Linked DNA regions of Homo sapiens: all the other regions are linked to region 1. The links are contacts of gene promoters, found by promoter capture Hi-C in human tissues and cell types (Jung and others, 2019). All regions are on one chromosome and are shown on one strand. The core of a region is centred on a gene start or on the middle of the fragment in contact, and the rest is flanking DNA. Distances in the headings are between cores, read along the strand shown. Region 1 holds the start of INIP (INTS3 and NABP interacting protein). Region 2 holds the start of POLE3 (DNA polymerase epsilon 3, accessory subunit). Region 3 overlaps SUSD1 (sushi domain containing 1).

The links. Contacts are between HindIII fragments. The study calls those that stand out against the background at their distance.
Region 2: a contact is called between the fragment with the promoter of POLE3 here and the fragment with the promoter of INIP in region 1, in 1 of the 25 tissues and cell types used here (adrenal gland).
Region 3: a fragment that was not itself captured here is called in contact with the fragment with the promoter of INIP in region 1 in 1 of the 25 tissues and cell types used here (heart left ventricle).

The regions. Positions count from the first base shown.
Region 1 is chr9:112,716,258-112,720,133 of GRCh38, forward strand. INIP (INTS3 and NABP interacting protein) reads right to left here and starts at 1,860. Exons shown (of 5, transcript NM_021218.3): 1 at 1,730-1,860; 2 at 204-284. The coding sequence starts at 228. RefSeq lists an enhancer at 1,442-1,541 and a silencer at 1,912-2,071. The HindIII fragment of the contact is 8,739 bases long and covers 1-3,876 here.
Region 2 is chr9:113,408,907-113,412,782 of GRCh38, forward strand. POLE3 (DNA polymerase epsilon 3, accessory subunit) reads right to left here and starts at 1,769. Exons shown (of 5, transcript NM_017443.5): 1 at 1,711-1,769; 2 at 1,322-1,502; 3 at 1,149-1,234; 4 at 704-822; 5 at 1-77. The coding sequence starts at 1,387. It overlaps C9orf43 (chromosome 9 open reading frame 43), which reads left to right and starts at 1,841. Exons shown (of 14, transcript NM_001278629.2): 1 at 1,841-2,095. RefSeq lists enhancers at 567-1,766, 669-1,568, 1,141-1,420, 1,661-1,850, 2,469-3,368. The HindIII fragment of the contact is 6,520 bases long and covers 1-3,876 here.
Region 3 is chr9:112,047,597-112,051,472 of GRCh38, forward strand. All of the region lies in intron 15 of SUSD1 (sushi domain containing 1), which reads right to left. Among named protein-coding and RNA genes, the nearest start is that of LINC02977, 9.1 kb to the left of the region's middle. The HindIII fragment of the contact is 4,177 bases long and covers 1-3,876 here.

The sequences.
Region 1 (3,876 bases), core at 610-3,109:
GACGGGGTTCCTGACCTCAAGCAGTCCACCCGACTTGGCCTCCCAAAGTACTGGGATTACAGGCGTGAGCCACCGCTCCCGGCCTGCTATTCATTTTTTAAATTCTGGCTACAGTAACTGCCCTATGCTAAATTTTCTCTTATTCAAATACATTTACTATATTGGGGAAATGTTCATAGTAAAGAAATTCCTGCTGTCATTACCTTGTCCTGAAGAGTTTGCTGCCATTTTCCTATTTTGTTTCAAGTATGTCCAGTGGCAATTGGTCAGCACTTCACAATCACCTATAAAATATGTGTACACACATATACAATGCACCATATTTTAATCACAAACTAAAAGGAACAGCTAGCCTCCTTACAATGAAATGTTTGCTGTTTCTTAATCTCTTCAGAAAGATACATTTGTGCCGGGCGCGGTGGCTCACGCCTGTAATCCCAGCACTTTGGGAGGCCGAGGCGGGCGGATCACGAGGTCAGCAGATCGAGACCATCCTGGCTAACATGGTGAAACCCAGTCTCTACTAAAAATAAAATTAAAAAAAAAAATCAGCCGGGTGTGGTGGCAAGCGCCTGCAGTCCCAGCTACTCGGGAGGGCGAGACGGGAGAATCACTTGAACCCGGGTGGCGGAGGTTGCAGTGAGCCGAGATCGCGCCACTGCACTCCAGTTTGGGCCACAGAGCGAGACAGCGAGACTCGGTCTCAAAAAAAAAAAAAAAGAAAAGAAAGAAAGATACATTTGAAATGTACACAGACTGAAACAAATGTAAACTCTGCTAGTGCCTCAAGCATTTAATTAAATACGGCATTGTTTATTCTTGCAGATGTTCATACCATTTAGCATTACTGTCTTTAATAAACGTCATTAGGTTGTATTTACCAAATATATCAACCAATTGATAGAGTCAATATAATCATGGTGCTAGGAAGAAAAATCATTCATCTATGGTGTCTCTGCATTCGTCTAAAACACATACCCAAAAACTACTGTGTACACTGAAAGCTAAAAAAGGTAAAGGAGTACTGTATCTGCTCTGCACCATACACTGTGTAACATGCTCGAAATTAGTTCCTTTATTTATTTATCACCATTTTATAGATGAGGAAACCGTACCCAGGGTCATAGAGCTAGTAGGAATTATTTGGGCTGCTGGTTTCCAAACTTCGTGCTTTCGTACTAAATCCTGGGGAGATCCAAGATGAGCAAGACCCTAATCCTGCTTTCAGAAGGGAAAATAAAGTCTTATTCAAGCAACCATACTATTAATTAAAAAAAAAAAAAGCTTAACAAACCCGCTCTTTAAAAGGTGGGCACAGTGCCGGAGGCAAAGAATTGATTTCATTGGCAGCAAAGAGTGATGCCTTAGTCTAGGGAGCCCGGGAAAGACACAAGGGATAGAAAACAGACACCGGTTTTTAGTAAATGAATCGTTAGGTGTCTCCAGCGGCTGAAACACAGAGCGAGCAATGCGGGGTTAGGACTGGAGGACAACAGGGCCATCTTGTGACAGGGTAGACTGGCGTGCCAGAAAGGTCCCTGCCTACGGATGTGCAGAGCCGGCTGGGCCCGGGCTGTGAACGAGACGAAGGAAGCAAGTAGGAGCCAGAAATGTTAGGTGGCAAGGTCGGAAGGGAGGTCGCTGCCTGTAGCAACAAAGACGGCGGCGACAGGTTAGCACCGGAGCCACACTTTTCTATTGCCCGGTGCCTCCAGACTGTCGTACTTACCTGGGACCCGAGGACACCGGGACCGCCTCTCCTTACAATCGCTGCTCTTAAAGGGGGCGCGACCACTTAGGCAAGAGGAGCTCAACTCGCGGCACTACAACCTTCCCGCCCCCGCTGCGCTTCCGCCTCCTGACTGACGTGCGCCCCAGGGAGCGGAAACCCCGCCTCCCGCCGGGACCCAACGGCCACCGCCCGTCGTGATTCGCACTTTAGCGGCCACCTCAGTGCAGACGTCACTTTTTTTTCCAAAGAGTGACAGTCGAAGAGGCTCACGGGAGATGCAAACGGTACTTTTGGGGGCTGGGCCAGGGTGGGGCGTGGCCCGGGGCGGGGGAGGGGCGGGGCTGCCAGGCAGGGGCGGGACGGAGAACACCTGGGTCCCTAGCACCAAGACTGGCTTTTTATTCATTGCCACCGCCTGGCCGGTCTTGCGACGGTGCGAGTCCACCTCGGCTGGGCCTCGGAGGAGGGGCGACTCTAGAAGCTAAACTCGCTTTCGAGCTTTAACAACCATCTCGGATTGCGCATCCGCACACACACACACACACACACACACACACACACAAATTCAGGAATATTTTTTGTCTACAGTTTACATAATTATACACAATGAAAGCACTGAATATGGAGGATTTTTATTACAGTGCAATAATCTGCATTTAAGAAGTGGATGTGCCACATCGCAGAACACCAAGTTGCCACTAGTGGGATCACCTGCTGCCCACCTGATTCCAGCACAGTAGATAGCTACACATTTGAATTAAAAGGTAATCGTATATTGACATGTGTTCAAATTGCACTCTTTTTAATTTAAAAAAATATTTTTTATGGTGACAGTGTCTCGCTTTGTTGCCCAGGCTGGTCTTGAACTCCTGGCCTCAAGGGATCTGCCCACCTCAGCCTCCCAAAGTGCTGGGATTACAGGCGTGAGCCACCTGCCCTGCTTAAAATTGCAGTGTCTTAATCTCTTCCGAAAGATACATTTGAAAAACGCACAGACTTAAATCACAAATGTAAGCTCCCCAAGCGCCTCAAGCATTTAATTAAATAGAATGGATAATGAATTTGAACATATGTTTTTAATAATTGATGTTTGCTCAAGAGTAAAATGTTTATGATGCACAATTTTCTTGTGCATGGATCAATGACTGAAATAATCGTTTCAATATCAAGTATTTATTTACTGAAAACCAAGCATGTATTTACTCTATACCAAGCAGCTATTGAGTGCCTTCTACAATGCGAGGTGCTTCCTGTGCATCAGCTCTGGTCCTGCTGTTCCCTGATTTATATTTGAGACTCATGTTTCTTGCTCTATGTCAAGTAGCGAGCTAAGATTCAAATTTAAAGATCTGCCAGATGCTAAGGCCTGAGTTCTTAAATCTCACACATTGCCTCTGCTCTGGAGGAATGAATTCCTCTGAGACCAGTTCTTGCTGACTTGACTTTAATCCAGATATAAAGCCTAACACATGAGCATTTTGATGGTAGGCCAGGAGTCCTTTCAGTTAAGAGGACTTGGTGAGTTCTAGTATGACTAAAAAGATGACTGAGATCTATATGGCTGATAGAACCTTAGAATTTTTTTTTGTTTTGTGGCCTAGCTAATATAGAAACTAGGGCACAGAAAGTTCCAGTCTAAGTTTCAAATGGACATTCTGAACAAAGCTTATTTAAGGAGGTGGGAGTAAAAACAGTTCTAACCCTAAACAACATTTTATAATTTCTTAGCAAATTCAGCCTCTGAGAGTTGAAAGAACATTATCAGGAGAAAGATAAATTTAACTTGCTGCCAATTCTTTTGCCTTTTACTTGGTAGGTCATAGCCCTTGAAACCCTTCTGTCTTCTCCTAGAGTTTTTGGAACTTCTGCCTCATTGTGTTAACCTCTAACACAGTGGTTAATAGTGAGTCAGTTTACTTGAATGCAAATTCGAGCTTTGCCACTTAATGATGGTGAGCCCTGGTTTAACCTTTTGGTGCCTCTGTTTTGTCATCTATAAAATGGGAATAAAAATAAGTGATTGGGTATACGTAAATCACTTAGAATAGCACCTGGCACATAATAAGAACTCAATAAATGTTGACTATTAGAATATAAACAATGAACAATCTGTTTTACTGGGTGTCTTGGCAAGTGGTCAGTAG
Region 2 (3,876 bases), core at 519-3,018, 690 kb after region 1:
CGAGTCTGTTTTTTTGTCTTTGTCCTTCTTCTTTTGCTCTGAGGCCTCCTTCTTGCCTTTCTGCTCCCGCCTATATGCTGTAAGGACGGAACAAGGGGTTAGGAGACAGAGCTGAAAGTGAGCCAGACGGACTGCAGGAGCTAATTACATTGTACAATTGGAAAAACGGAGGCAGATGGGCGCGGTGGCTCACGCCTGTAATCCCAGCACTTTGGGAGGCTGAGACGGGCGGATCACCTGAGGTCAGGAGTTCAAGACCAGCCTGGCCAATATGGTGAAACCCCGTCTCTACAAAAATAAAAAATGAGCCGCACGTGGTGGCGTGCGCCTGTAGTCCCAGCTACTCGGGAGGCTGAGGCAGGAGAATTGCTTGAACCCAGGAGGAGGAGACTGCGGTGAGCTGAGATCCCATCACTGCACTCCAGCTTGGGTGACAGAGCAAGACTCCGTCTCAAAAAAAAAAAAAAAAAAACAAAAACAAGAAAAGCAAGACAAAAACAAAAACGGAGGCAGAGAAGGAAAAATAACTTGCTCAGCATTACAAAACAGATCTGAGGTGGTGCCCACCGAACTGGGTCGAGTCACATCAAGTGCTGGCTTACTGGACTTAAAGGGACCCGCGCTGAGAAGGCTCAGGGCCTGGTGAACAGGTCACACAGGATGACCATCTTCTATGTGGTTTAGAAGACAAGAGGCTCGTTACCTTCCAGAGCTTCTTTCAATGGGGTAACGAACCGCTGGAACTCCATCTCTTCCATGGCTGAGAGCACATCACTGGCATTCAGCGTCTTCCGCTTTCCTTTCATTGCAAAGTTGTTAGCACTGAGAGAAGAGAAAGGCTGTCAGACTCCCTCTTGTTTGTAAGGCGTGAGTGGGAAAAGGAGCACCCAGAGGTGGAACGGGAAAGCCTGCCTCTTACATGTATGGATTTTGGTGTGACAGGGATAAGTCCTTCCCTTCTCTGCACAAAAAAGCTAAAGCAAAGTGATTTTGTTGTGTTATTTTGCTTCAGAACTTGTAAAAACTGGCAGAGGACTGTGAACATGTCCCCACCGAGGGAGAACACAATCGTTGGGGTTTGTAGGCTCCCAGCCAGCAACTCCCAGCCAGGTATCCCCGCGCCTCCCTTATGCCTCTGTCCCGCTCACCAGGATGTGGCGTACAGCACGAAGACGCTGGCGGCGCGGGAGATGGCGCTCCGGGCCTCCTTGGAGATGTTGACACCGTCCGGGAGCTGCGAGGAGACCGGGGGTGAGCAAAGCTGCCGTTCCAGCACCTGCTTCCCTCCTGCCCGTTCGTCCGCCCCCCCCGAGCTGCTCACCGCCTCCTTGATGATCCTGGTGATCACGGCATTGGGCAGGTTTAGGTCCTCGGGCCTCTCCGCCATTGCCGCCGCTGGGGCTTAAACTCCCCTTCGCCTCCGCTTCAGGGAGCTACTGCGTCCGGACTTCCCGCGTCGCTACGGTCTGACCCTGCGAGGTTTCCGTTCCGCCCCACGTGGCCTACAGTGTCCCACAGTGCTCTGAGCGCCATAGCCTCCCTCCTCCCCCCACAGCCCCGCCTCCGCCTCAAATACCGGCGCATCCGGATTTTGAAGCCGCAGTGGTTTTGGCCCGCCAAGGCTTCCATCCAACCCTACCGCACCCCGCACGCCCCTCCCCAGGTCCATTTCTCTGCTTCTCGCCATCGCCGCGTCGGGAACCTTCTCACCAACTTATTTGGCTCAATGGAGCTTCCGTCCGTTTCCCATGGTGCCCTGCGCCGCTGCTGGGTGACGGCGCGGCCGGGCGCAGCGCGTGGGAGACGAAGGCGTGGCTGACTCGGCGGGGCGGATCCCTTTAGGACCCGAGGCAGGCTCTGGGCCCGCCGGGTCCGTTAATCTCACCGCGCCGCAAGGGGCCACGTTTTACCACTTGATTTAGCAACCCTAAGCGGTTTGGAATCTGCTTTGCTCTCACAGGACCTCAGCCCGTCGTGATCAGATTCTCCCACTTTCTTTTTTCTTTCCTGGAATGGAGTGGGCAGTCTTTTTCCATCTCTACCGAAGTTGATGTTCATTTTTAATCTTTTCGCCCCTCACGCTTTTGTAATAATGGTACTAAGACTGAGTGTTATTTAGATTTTATTGTTGTTGTTTGTGTTTAACGCGAACTATTTAGGCAGCCCAGGGATAATGCTGGCCATATAGAGATGCGCCTGATTAGGTCTCAGGAGTCAATTCGGACTGGGCAGGTAACGAAAGGGCGAGAAGCAGCCTTTTCACTGTATGAAGAATGCAACGTCACATTCGCTTTCAAAAACAAACCGTGTTAAAATTGTATTTATTTTTCAGTTAAATTGTTCATCATACATTTTTTCCAGTTAAAACCATTCTCAAGGTTTTGCAATGGCGTTTCTTTTTTTTTTTTTTTGAGACAGTCTCACTCTGTCGCCCAGGTTGGAGTGCAGTGGCGCCGATTTCGGCTCACTGCAAGCTCCGCCTCCCGGGTTCACGCCATTCTCCTACCTCAGCCTCCTTAGTAGCTGGGACTACAGACGCCCGCCACCACGCCCGGCTAATTTTTTTGTATTTTTAGTAGAGACAGGGTTTCACCGTGTTAGCCAAGATGGTCTCGATCTCCTGACCTCGTGATCCGCCCGCCTCGGTCTCCCAAAGTGCAGGGATTACAGGCGCCAGTCACCGCGCCCGGCGCAATGGTGTTTTAAGTTGTTTTTAAGTTATTTTTATATTAAGTTCGTAGAAATTCTCACTCCCACTGATTTTATTTATTTTTTAATTTTTAAAATTTCTTGACAGGGTCTCACTCCGTCCCCCAGGCTGGAGTGCAGCGGCACGGTCTCGGCTCACTGTAGCCTCGACCTCCCTGGCTCAGGTGGTCCTCCCACCTCAGCCCCAAATAGCTGGGGCTACAGGTGCGTTCCATCACACCCAGCTAATTTTTTGTATTTTTCGTAGAGACAGGGTTTCACCATGTTGCCCAGGCTGGTCTCGAACTCCAGGGCTCAAGTGATTCTCCCTCGGCCTTGCAAAGTGCTGAGATTACAGGCATGAGCCACGGCGCCCAGCCTCCCACTGAGAATTAATGCTGCTTTTTTTTCCCGTCAAGCATGCAGTCCCAAGTCGCCCTGTAGTTTTCCTGCTTTCGATAGAAGCCTGATTATAGAGAAATATTTTAAAACAAAAGAGCAAATGCTATGATAAATGGCAACTGAAAGTGTTTCAATTAGAGACCATAAGGTCTGGTGGGGGAACTCCGCTTGGATAGAACAGACCTGGCTGAAACCATCAGGGCTGCTCAGCGCTAGTCAGTTGCTCTTCAACTGGAATTGGGCTCAGTGTTGTCAAGTATTTTGGTCCCTAAAAGGACATTGTGGGCTATTTCAATTTTAAAATTGATTCAAATTTAAAATTGATTCAAAGTGCTAGCCAAACAAAACAAGTAATAGGCCAGGTGCAATCCCAGGCTGATAGTTTATCTTTGATCTAAATTATGAAACTGTTTAGAACAGGGAGTTTGTTTATTACTGTTCATGTCCAAAGCAGGTCCCCTCACATATTTAGTAATCAATAAATGTGTTGAATAAAAGAAAGAAATGGACACTGTCCTTAAAAAGTTCTTAGGAATAAGGTGGTAGTTAGTGATTGCCTAAAACACCTCTAGAAAGGAAAAGATGATAATATTTATTGAACACCTCCCATGAATAAAAGTACATTATCTCATTTAATGCTTCTGCAGTCCTACTTAGGGATTCCCTGCCTTCTGCTTATGTTATTTATTATTTTTTGTGGAGAGGGGGTAACTCATCTTGGCCTACCAAAGTGCTGTGGTTACAGACCTGAGACACCAAGTCAGGACCCCTCCCCCTACTTGAGAG
Region 3 (3,876 bases), core at 709-3,208, 670 kb before region 1:
TAGTGGGAACTATTTGGGTCATGGGGTTGGAGCCCTCATGAACAGATTAATGCCCTCTCTCAGAGGTGAGTGAGTTCTTGCTCTGGAGGGGCTGTATTACCAGGGAGCTAGTTGTTATAAAAATGAGTCAACTTCCTAGACTCTTTCTTGCTTCCTGTGTCATCACATGATCTCTTTGTATATACCTGCTGGCTTTTCCACTTCTCTACCATTGTTCTGGTGAGCATGTAGCCCTCACCAGAAGCAGGCCAGATGCAGTACTATGCTCTTGAACTTCCCAGCCTACAGACTCATGAGCTAAATAAACCTCTTTTCTTAATAAGTTACCCAGCCTCCAGTATTCTGTTATAGCAACACAAAACAGACTAAGACACTTGCAGTTATAGGACTAGGGTCCCCATTTTCTTACTGGCTGCAGCCAGGCCTTGCTCAGCTCCTTCTGTTAAGCTGCACTCCTTGCCATGTGGACCCCTCCATCTTCAAGCTGCAGGAGAATTTCCCTATGTCAAATCCATCTCATTCTTTGAAGCTCCAACTTCCCCTATCTCTGACCTCTAGATCCAGATTTAAAGGGCTCCTGTGATTAGGTCAAGCCTATCTGGATAATCTCCCTATTCGGGAGCTTAAGTACATCTCCAAAATCCCTTCACAGCAATACCTAGAACAGTCTTTGAATGAATAACTGAGAGAAGGTAGATGTATACCAAAGACAAGGAATTTGGGAACCATATTAGAATTCTTCCCATCACAACTATAAAGGTTTAAAATGATTGTGTGCATGTATATATGTACATATATACACATATATGTACATATACAGTAAATACATATGTATACATACACACTAGGTTTATATCCTGATGTAAGTCTTCTCTGGCTTATTTGATAAGTATTGCACCTCCTATGCTTCATTTCCCATAAAACTAACTGCTGCTTCCTCAGTAATCATTCAGCCCAATTCAGTGCATTCTGATTGAACACCTAATGCATGCCAGGCTCTGTTCCTCCTCTTCAAATGCCCTTCAAGGGTGTAAAATCTAGTAGTAGAAGACAGACAAAACAAGTGCACACCCATTGCTCTAAAATATAGCAGAATAGCCAAAGAAGGGCAGATCCTGCCCTGTTGAGAAAATTTAAAAAGCTTCAGGGAAGAAAGGGCATTTGATTTTAATCTTGAAAAACAGGTGGGATAAGCAGAGATTCACAGGTGGGTGATCAGGAAATCCAGATGGAAGTCGTCAAGTAATTATATGAGCAAGGACATTAAGAGGAGAAAGCATGGGCCATAGCCAGAAAACAGCTGGAACATTGGTTTGAATGGAGAAGAATAAAAGATGTAATTAGAAGGGTATGTTTGTGTCAAATAGAGGACTTGGAAGCCAAACTGAAAAATAATGGAGGACCACAGAAGCAGAGGAAACAAAATCAGTTCTGAGTTTAGAAACAAGTCAGGTGGTGGTGTGTAGGCTGGAATGACGAGGGAAATTCTGAACTCTTGTGATGGGAGATGAGGAAGGAGGATTTGCCCGTCATCCCTGCTACAGGTAGGAAGGCCTATGCTCAGGGAGTGAACACAGAAATGAAAATCAGAGAGGCGTGCCCAAGGTGCTAAATGTGGGCTGAAAGAGAAAAAGGAGTAGTCCCGAATAACTCAGAGGTTTCATGCTTACGACTGGAGAATGTTCCCCGATTACAGCTTATTATCATCTCACATATATCAAATGACCTTGCTTTGTGACTCAAGAAATCACAGACTCATAATACTCTGTGGCTGGAAAGCATCTCAGAGATCCCAGAGAGAGGGCGACTGAGAACTGGCCAAGTTAAATACTATTTCAAAGACACTTGGCTGATTAGTAGCAGAAGACTCAGGCAAGTAAGCCCAGGCCTCTGCATCTTCCATCAAACCGACTGCTGGTTTCCTGATCATCTTTACAAAGCTCTTCTAGGGGCAATATGCAAAAGGTAAATAGCATAATTTGTCACTGGGCAAAGGCCAGAATGGGGCTGAGCCTTGGCACGAGTGAACTGGCACGATTTCAGGACTAATTTAGATCTCGGTTCTCTGCAAATTACTTTCTGAAATGGCAGTCTCCAAACTTTTTTGAAAAAGTAGACTGCCCAAGATGGGTGCACAACACAGGTAAATGTTATACATAAAAAAGTATTGCTAGAATTGCCTTCAGAATTTCCACAGAACAGTGTTTTTCCTATTATCTTCCAGAGATTTCCAGTGGTTTAATTTCAAAGGCTCAAACTCTCCTTCAATATTGGTTCTCAAGCTGAGGGGAAACCAGAGCACTGCCAAAGCCACTTAGATATTTTCAAAGCAAAATCCTCCCTGTTAATTTAATCATAGCAGAATGACTGCAGCCAGCTCTTTGGCGATTTCTTCTACCCAGTTTGAATGTCTTCCAATCATAGCAAACAGCTGCTGAGTAGAGTGGATTCTGGAAGCTATTATTTTTGTGTCTGGAAGCTTTGTCATCTTAATTATTCTGATAAAAGCATCTCTTTTCCTCGTGAGAACGCCATGCCCAATCCTAGAGCTTCAGGGGATGGACTGGCAAAAAAAAATTTATGAATGTTGGAATGTGTGGCCTTTATTAAAGTCCTACAAGTAAAGGGACTTGGCCCATCTGCACACAGAAACAGGACAGCACCCATCTTTGTCAAGAGGGGCCCTCACTGCCTGGTCATCAGCAATCCAAGATGGCTGACAGTCAGGTAACCCGCCTTGCACCCTGCTGAAAAGCCAAGTCCTCTACCCTTGTTGCAGTTGGTTTGAGCAGAGGTAAAAAGATGAAAATAAGATCAGGAGAGAAGCAGACAAATGGAGGAAGCCTAATTCCCCAGGCCCCTCCCAGATATTTCCTGCACAGTATTCTCTACTGACAGGATAAAAAATTCCCCATTAAAAAGTGCTATCCAGTGGAATCCTTAGGGAAGCAAGTTTATGCTGGCACTTCCTCACCATGCCAGTTGATTGTTTTATGCTGCTCTGAGGCGGGGAGAGGAGGTAAAGGGTTAAACTGATACTGTGGGCTAAGGGCAGAACTTGACAGCCTGTTGCTAGGACCCACAAACCACACGGAAAAGGTCCAGATTCCAAGGTCATAAACTCAACAAGATTTCTGGTATTAGCTACAAACTAATGGAATTCCTGGGAATCAAATCCACTGGCTGGCTGCCTGTTGGTTTTAAAGAAATGTACTGTACTGCCAGGGAAATCCCGAGCCTGGAAAACAAAGACCTGTGATTGCTCAAACCCTAAGGCAATTTCCCCGCCTGGATAACTCTTCCAAGGCAAAGGTTTAAGCTATACAGCGCTCAGCAGAAATGTTCCCACTGCATCTCTAAGGAAAGGCTTTGGAGGAAATGGACAAGGGGTCCCATCAGGCAGACCCAAACTGACCACCCAAGTGACCCATTCTGCTGCCAGGGCAGGGGATGCTTGCTTGTCCTGCCCAGCAAGAGGTGATCACTGCTACAGGGCCCCCTGACCACTGTACATTGCTTTATCTTTTCCTCCTTTCTAAATGAGCGTATTTATTGTGCTATTCAGTTTTCCCTCTCATATTATGTATTATGGTTTGAGATTGGTTAAATTTGCCATTTAGTCATAGATTACTTAAATAGAGCACAAGAAACACATCTGGACTTGACCAAGAGGAAGATGCTATCCCCAGGATTCCTGGTCTTGGAGCTGGATGCAGTAACGGACCCAGCTTTCAGTTGTCTTCCACTAGGGTTCCATGTGGGATCATGCATAGGATAGTTCCATTTTGTTAAGGGAAGAAGTTTTTCTTTTCTTTTTTTTTTTTTTTTTTTTTTTTTGTTGTTGTTGTTGTTGAGATGGAGTTTTGCCTTTGTTGC